2 separate regions of the Homo sapiens genome follow, and region 1 is linked to region 2. Evidence: promoter capture Hi-C in 16 types of primary human blood cells and fetal thymus (Javierre and others, 2016). All regions are on one chromosome and are shown on one strand. The core of a region is centred on a gene start or on the middle of the fragment in contact, and the rest is flanking DNA. Distances in the headings are between cores, read along the strand shown. Region 1 has its middle 480 kb from the start of LINC00355. Region 2 holds the start of PCDH9 (protocadherin 9).

What was found. Contacts are between HindIII fragments. The CHiCAGO score rates a contact against its expected background, and 5 or more counts as called.
Region 1: a contact is called between a fragment that was not itself captured here and the fragment with the promoter of PCDH9 in region 2, in 3 of 17 cell types (M2 macrophages, total CD4 T cells and M1 macrophages). The highest score is 6.6, in M2 macrophages.

What each region holds. Positions count from the first base shown.
Region 1 is chr13:64,557,370-64,561,548 of GRCh38, reverse strand. No RefSeq gene overlaps it. Among named protein-coding and RNA genes, the nearest start is that of LINC00355, 480 kb to the right of the region's middle. The HindIII fragment of the contact is 1,090 bases long and covers 859-1,948 here.
Region 2 is chr13:67,228,369-67,232,804 of GRCh38, reverse strand. PCDH9 (protocadherin 9) reads left to right here and starts at 2,469. Exons shown (of 5, transcript NM_203487.3): 1 at 2,469-3,025; 2 at 4,230-4,436. The coding sequence starts at 4,365. RefSeq lists a silencer at 2,059-2,198. The HindIII fragment of the contact is 4,939 bases long and covers 802-4,436 here.

The DNA.
Region 1 (4,179 bases), core at 154-2,653, 2.7 Mb after region 2:
AGGACTGTAATTTTTTGAATATATTTAGTATATATTCCTTTTAACTTTAAAAGTCCTCCTCCGGTAATTTTCTTAAGAAAACATTTGAGCAATTGTATAAAGATATATATAATGTTATCTCTTATTAGTTTTGTTTATTTTAGTAAAATTCAGAGGGAAAGGAAAAAATCTATTAATAGGTGGATCATATAATTATATATCCACACAATGAGTACTGTTTAGTCATTATTAATAAAGATGAACATCTGCATATATTGACATGGAAACAATGCCTTCAATATATTGTTCTTCGAGATAAAGATGACTGGTAAAATTAGTCCAAAAGACAAAGAGGAAAGTATTAATTAGGATACATTGCAAAAAAACTGTATATTGTTAAAAAATATAGAGAGCAAAATCCCTACATAATGAACAGAACATCTTACAGTGCTGTGCTTGAGTGACTTTTATATTTTTCAACATATTTCTTTAGTTTATATTATGTAAAGACCATACTCATCATTTTATAATAGATAAAAATTATCTATTGCCATTGAGAAAAAAAATCATAATTTTAATTCTTTTCACCGTCATACATTTAAAAAATTTAACTATGTTCGCTTTTCATTTGAAATGTTTTAACGTTTCAACTTGATACTCATATGAATTTATAATTAAAAAAATCAAAAGTCACTTAAACAAAAAGGAGTAAAAGGGAAGACATTGATAAGACGAAAAACTAGGAAGCTGTAGGCTTATATCCCCCAGTAGATAAATTGAGATTAAAAAAAAATTAAACAAATTAGAGTACCTTTGTGAGAACTAGTTGGACTAGTTGGAAAGCTATAGTACCCAGGTCAACATAAAATCAAGAAAGCTTCCCAGAAAACGGGGTGAGATTATTTGTGATATTTGCATGCCTGTCCATGCCCCTCATTTGATGTGTCGCAGTGAGGTGCAACTGGGAGGAAACTTCCCATGCCAGGAGTCCGCCCTTAGGATAGAAAAAGAGTAGAGTTCATTGAGCTCCTAACATTCTGACTTTACTGGGAGCTGCATGAAGGACAGGTTTCTGTCTCACATGACTTAGTCCACAACAGTTTGGAAGCTGCTGAAAATGGGCAACGTAGCACATTAGAGCTGCAATTAGAGCACATTAGAGCTGCAGCATTGTATATCTAATTAAAATAAGAAAAATGGTACATGTATAAAGTAAGAATATCAGCAAAGAAAAACTATTTAAAAAGAACCAAATGAAATATAGTCTTGAAAAATTCGGTAACTAGTAAAAAATTATTTGTACAAAATAATCTATTTTTTTAAATACTATAACTTATTTAAGCACAGCTAAAGTGGTTAAAGTGGTAAAAACAGATTTTATTCAGAAATTTCTGACAGCAGCAGCAGGCAGAGATTTTAATGGTGTAGGGAGCTGGAGTCATTTTAGGAACAAGATCTTATGTTGCTAGAAACTATGCTAGAGCTTGTTCAAGTCTCTTAACACAGAGGTTTGGATAGAGTTATCATGTTCCAAGAGTTTTATAATTCTCAAACTGAACTAAAAAAATTCACTACAGAGATTCAACACTAGACTTGATCAGAGGAAAGAATCAGCAAACCTAAAAACAGGCCATTTGAAATTACTAAATAAGAGAAGCAAAAAGCAAAAAAACAAAGAAAAATAGAGTGTAAGGGAATTATGGGAAACTATCAAGCCAACAAATATAGTCATTATATAAGTCCCAGATGGAGAAAAAATAGAGAAATAATAAGAAAGTTCACTGGAAGATACGAAGGCCAAAGAAGTCCCAATTTTGAGTAAAGAAATCGTAATAAAAATTTAAGAAGCTCAATGTAATTTAATTAGAATAAAACTGATGATCCCCACATAAAGACATATTATAATCCAATTGTCAAAGACAAAGAGACTTGTGAAAGCAAGATAAAAGTATTTCATTATAAGGAAGCTTCCAAAAGATTAAATATATTAACCCTCTCCTCTCTGGCTTTCAAGATTTCTCCTGAGAAGATGATATATTCAAAGGACTAAAAGAAAAGAAAAATAAATAAATTAATAAAATCTACAAACAAGAATGCTATGTCTTACAAACTGAAGAAAAATTAAAACTACTCCAGATAAATAAAATCTGAGAAAGTTCACTACAATTAGACCTGTTCTACGAAGTTGTTGAAAAAAATATAAAAACATGGACAAAAATAGTAACCTTATATTATTGCAACTTTGGTCATTTTTAATTCTTAAATAAAATTAGGACAAAATCATTGTGAAAAACTATAAATCTGTGCTAATGGTTATATAACATGTAAAGTTATAATTTGTTTCATTGATAATATACAGTATGGGATGAAGTTGTAAAGGAGTACAGTTTTTCTAGGTAATTAAAATTATTAGCTTAACATAAAGTTATTATTAGCTTAAAATAGAATGTTATAACTTTAAAATGGTTTTGTAATTGCAATGGTAACCACAAAAAATGTATTAGCCAAATATACACAAAATGAAATGAGAAGGAAATTAAAGCATGTCACAATAAATATCAATGAAACACAAGAAAGGCAGTACAAGAGGAGAGAAGGAACAAAGAAGTTGTAAAACAAACAGAAAAAACAATTAACAAAATGACAAAAGTCTTTCTCTATTAATAATTATATTATATGTAAATAGATTAGCTACTCAATCAAAAGAAAGGTTGGCTGAATGGATTTAAAAAGAAGATTCAACTCTATGCTATCTATAAGACATACGTTAGATCTGAGGACCCACAGAAGCTGAAAGCAAAAAGATGAACATAGATAAGATATCCCTATCAAATGGTAGATAACAAAAGAACAGAGGTGGATATAACAATATCAGAAAAATAAACTTCAAGTCAAAATCTGTTTGAAGAGACAAAGAAGAACTTATATAATGATAAAAGTGTCAATTCATCAAGAATATATAACAATTATAAATATTTATGCAACAAATGTCAAAGCCTCCAAAATATAAAGCAAATTTTGACAAAATTGAAGGAGAAATAGAAAGCAGCCCATAATAGTAGTAGACTTCAATACCCTACTTTCTTTTTTTGTTTGTTTTTTTTTGAGATGGAGCCTCACTCTGTCACCCAGGCTAGAGTGCAGTGGTGCGATCTCTGCTCACTGCAACCTCCGCCTCCTGGGTTGAAGCAATTCTCCTGCCTCAGCCTCTGGAGTAGCTGGGTGGGCATGTGCCACCATGCCCAAGTAATTTTTTATATTTTTAGTAGAGACAGGGTTTCACCATGTTGGGCAGGCTGGTCTTGAACTCCTGACCTCGTGATCCACCAGCCTCGGCCTCCCGAAGTGCTGGGATTACAGGCGTGAGCCACCGTGCCCGGCCCTCCCTACTTTCAGTAATGGATAAAACAAGCAGACCGAAGATAAATAATATAACAGAGAACGTTAACAACAATACAGACCAATTAGATATAAGAGACATATGCAGAACACTAATTACCCCCTCTCCACCACCACCAAAAAGCACAACATACATTCTTTTCAAGAACACATGGGCATTTTTTACAACAGACCACAATTTAGACCACAATGTTTTAATAGATTTTAAAAGACTGAAATAGTACTAAGTATCTTTTCCAGACATCAATAGTACAAGGTAAATGAAACTAGGCATCAATAGCACAAGGAAACTAGATATGAATAGCACAAGGAAAGCAAGGAAAGCAGAGAAATTCACAAATATATAAAATTAAAATTAAAGAACATACTTTTTTTTTTTTTTTTGAGATGGAGTCTCACTCTGTCACCCAGTCTGGAGTGCAGTGGCTCGATCTTGGCTCACTGCAACCTCCTGAGTAGCTGGGACTACAGGTGCTTACCACCATATCTGGCTAATTTTTGTATTTTAGTAGAGACGGGGTTTCACCATGTTGGCCAGGCTGGTCTTGAACTCCTGACTTCATGGTCTGCCTGCCTCAGCCCCCGCAAAGTGCTGGGATTACAGGCGTGAGCCACCACATCCATCCAAGAACATACTTTTAAACAGCCAATGGGTTAAAGAAGCAGCCAAGAAAAATTCGAAAATACCTTGAGATAAATGAAACCCAAACCACAACCTACTAAAACTTAAGTGATGCAGCCCAGCAGTACCAAGTATAACAAGTATATTTTAAAAACAAGAAAGATTTCAAGTCAGCAACA
Region 2 (4,436 bases), core at 1,220-3,719:
TCATTAATTGAATCATGTGATGATTTTTTTTTTCTCTTCTCTAACCTTCATCTTGTGTTCAAACTAAGATTTCATTTATGAGCAGGAGGTAATAATGGGTTCTGCCAACACGTGAAGCTATCCTTAGCAAAGAGAAACAACTCCGTTTAATAATGATGTTAAATAATTATTGCTAAGCTATGTGTTGCGACTACAACATGACTTTGAAATGACTACGGTATGATTAGAATAAGAATATGATATAACTGTGGTGCTTATGAAATGAACTGGAAAGTGGCTGTGCTGCTATGTTTATTGTAAATGTATCACAATGATGGTTCATTTATTTAAAAACAGTGCAGTGCATAAAATAGGTGACAATTGGAACAATGTACTAGCTTTAATTGTAGATTTTGTGAATGGCAAAATGATCGTTTACTGTGGTAAGATAAAAGAATCATCCTTTCATTCACTGACATTATTCTGTGAGGCAATATTTTTCTTTTCACTTTGGGATACTTGTAAGTCCTTTCTATTCTTGAATTTTATATATTCTAATCATACAAAATATTACTATAATAAAAGTTGCTTTGCTATTTAAAAAATATCAGTCTATTATCTGCAAGGAAAGTATTTTATATTTTACATATAAGGGATTAATGGATTTTACAGTGGGCTTTTAGACACTGCAGTTGAACTGTGAATATTAACTCAGAAAAGTTTGAATTAAAAAGAGCTTACAATTTCATGTTGGAAAATTGTGATGTCAAATTAGTTGGTTAAATCATGTCATTATTTATTCAATATATGGCTTAGTAAGCTTGATTGGTGTTTTTTTTTTTTTTTACTTTTCATTTAAACGTCTAAAAACAAATGTTACTTAAAAAAGAAAAAAAGCAAACAAAACTATTGTACTCAAAAACAAGGGGTAATCTCCAACACGCCCTCAGTCAAGAGCTTAAGTATGTCAAGAGCCTTTAATGCCTAGGCAGCCCATTATAGAATGGGGAACACACAGGTTTAAAATAAATGCCCTTTATTCTTCCTGTAAGTTAGACCAAGTTATTCAATCATGTACTAAGACCTTCTCTGACAACCTTTATAGGTCATTCAGAAAATAAATTTTTGTTCCAAGTGAACTGTTCCTATGTTAATGCTTCAAACTTTACTCAGGTATCAGGCGTTAAGTACAAGCCATTACACAAACCTTTGTGGTTTACTGACTTTGAAAGATCAATCAAATATATTACTAGATAGTGCTTTGGGGGTCAGTATTTGAGAAATAAAGCTGTATTTTTTGGGGAGTCATTCCATCCAGTTCCCGTATGAAAACGAGAAACTTGTGAGGATTTAGTACAGAGCTGGAGTCGGAGAAATGAAATGCACGGGAAAAGACGAAAATCACAGGAAAGAAAGTTGGAATCAGCAGAAAGTGCCTAGGGGAAAGGAAGTGTTCCACAGCTTGGGAAACAGCTGCCTGGGACTCCTTCCAGCCCCTCGGAAGCAAAGTTCGCAGTGAGGTGGGCTGGAAGCGGGTTTTGCAGCAGCCGCGAGTCCGGGCTCAGGTTTCCAGGCGCGGCTGGAGCAGAAGTGCAGGGACCGCCACGATCCACCGCCGCGGCCGGTCCCGCTCCGCTAGAGGAGACTTCGCACGCGCAGCCGACTGGCCCGGGCTGACCGAGGGGACCCAGACGCTGCCACTTTCTCTTTCCAAGGCAGTTTCCGTGGCTCTGCATGTAGGAAGTGCTCCGATTAATTTTCTTTCCGGTCTCCGCAGAGATTCCAAATTCTGCGGTCCCCACCTTTCGCTGTACTCCCTCTCCGCCCTTCTTTCCAATGTCCCTGCCAGCAAAAGCCTCTATTTGCAGCACCGGGCATGTTGTCCGTTTAACGCGCTCCGGGGATCTGCTGGCTCGTGCTCCCAACCCAGGGGTGGCTATACGTCTCGCGCCTCTGTTCCTGGGTAGACTCCCCCATCTGTGCATTTTGGCCCCTTCACTTAGCAAAGAGATGTGCGAAGTGTGCGCCTGGAGACGAGCCGCCTCGGTGACCCCCATCCGCCCGCAGCGGTGGCCCTGGTTCCCCGGATCCGCGCCCGCGCCCTGCGGGTCTCCCGCGCCGCCCTTGCCCGCCGGACCACCCGGGCTCAGAGGGTCGCTCGCTTTCAGCGCCTGCGAGCGCCGCTTCCGCCCGGGCCTGGGGAGCGCCAGCGCGTCCCTCCCACGCCGGACCCTGCAGAGCATGCTCAGTGCACCTCATGGAACCCGGCTCTCCTGGGGCCAGGATCAGATTTCCGGGTTTTCGCTGCTGCCGAGGGGGCGCGGAGGAGGGGAGGCTGGGAGACAGTCAGCGCCTTGTTCCGCGCTCCCTCCCTCGCGCCGGGCTGCGGCCGCCCGCGCCGCAAGATGCAGGCCAATCAGAGCCCGGGGGCGGGGCCTGGGCAGTCACGCCCTCCCTCTGGGCTTATTGAGAGTTATATCAAGAAATTCAGTTCAGAGAGAGGAGAGGGAGAAGGAGAGAGGGGCAGAGGGGAAGGGAGAGAGGGAGAGCACGCGAGACGGAAAGGAGCGCCTCAGAGTCTCTGAAGCACGCAAGAGATAACCGATTAGGAATTTTTCGGGCAACTGTCACCCGGATAGCTGTCAGAGAATCATCATCACCGCAACTCTGACGTTTCCTACAAGAAGTTAGAGACTTAAGCAGTATTGGCATCGGATGGAAATGGTATGCATGCTGCTGTGGAAAATATCCCTGAGCTGAAGAAGTGCAACTATGTGTTGTGTGTGCTAAATGCCCAGAAGAACCCAGACCCAGTGGGTAAGAGAGACGAAATGTGGAGAGAATGACTAACGACAAATCCGTGAATTTGTTCTCTGGAGTTGCTAATTTGCCAGCCCGAAGCAACACATTTTACAAGGAGGAAACATTTTGCTGCTTCTGATTTCTCCCCAAACTGGTGCTACCAGATGCATGGCTTTCTATGTGTTGGAACAAATCATTCCTAACTGCAGCATACTGGGAAAGGGGAAAGGTTGAGGCAACTAACGTAAGTGTAAAGTTTCGCATGCACAATTGTAAATTCTGTGTTTAGATGTGTCCTCAGTGTAGGCGAAAGATGCTTGTAATTGGGTAGACGGTTGGGGCAGAGCTCACCTACTCGGCTGTATCTGCATCCCTACCTGCATCACTCTGCCGGAACTAATCGCGGGCATCAGCTACTGTGCAGCCTAATGCAGATAAGATTAGAGCCTGAGAACTGACCAGTCCTACTCAAGTAGGTAGCTGCCTGGAGCCTTGCACCCATTTAAACTGCAGTTATCTAAGCAGAAGCCTTTTTACCTGCATGATTGGGTTGCAGTATTTATGTGTGGCAAATGTTACTAATATTCTAACCAGAGATCAGGATTAAGAAATTGCATTTTTTTTCTCTTTTATGTTCAGTAGAAAATATTGTGATGTTACATGGGAATGTTAGCTGCGTTTCACTTATATCTCGGCACTCTCTTCCACCTCTAGGAAAATGAATCCTATATTATTATACATTTTTAAAAGTTTTAATGTGTTTATGAATCCTAATGAGGATAATTTGTCAATATGGAGAAAGGAGAGCAAGCTGTGGGCAAGAAATCTGAAGTCTTGTTGTTGTGCTTTTAGGCAATGAGGATGTGTAGAGGCCGGTGACTATTGCTTCTGATGCCGCTGCAGCGGCATGTCCGGATGCTCGTTTCCCAGTAAGATTGTATTAGAAGGCAGTTGAAGAACTGGGAGGAAAGAAAAAGATAGCCTTTTTAGAAAAGATAGGTGACTCAGTGGGGCAGAGAAGAAAACACATTTGACATGTGACAAAGCAATTAGCAGGAACCGTAGCTAAATACTTAGTGTTTTTCACTTGCACCTGAAAAGACTGAGGGAGGTAGGTTAGAGGCTAGGAGGAGGGTGAGACAGGGGGAGGGGAAGAGGAGAACAAGAATGCATGTTTTGAATTAAACAGTATTCTGAAAAACAACGTGCGTGAATATAGGTAAAAATAGCAGCTGTCCTTAATTCAAAAGTAGAAAATTTTATTTTCTCCCGGCAAATGCAACCAGCAGGAGATATTTAGTGTTTTTCTCCACAGAGTAAACTTGCAAACAGTGGCAGAGCAAACTGCCATGTTTACTAATGTTCAGGGGAAAATGTGTGGTGATATTTTGTGACGGTGTGTTTTTATTTACTGAAGAATAATATTGTCTATACAATTGTGTTGACAGCGGCTGTCTCCAAATAAGTGATGAGATATAATGCATCCTCCAGTCCATGCACGCTTCCTCTTGCAATTTGTGCATCATTCCTCAGTGGAAACCTTTAAACCCTAAAATCCAGGAAAAGAAAATAAATACATTATCATGGACCTGAGGGATTTTTACCTGTTGGCTGCTCTGATTGCCTGTTTAAGGCTGGATTCCGCAATAGCTCAA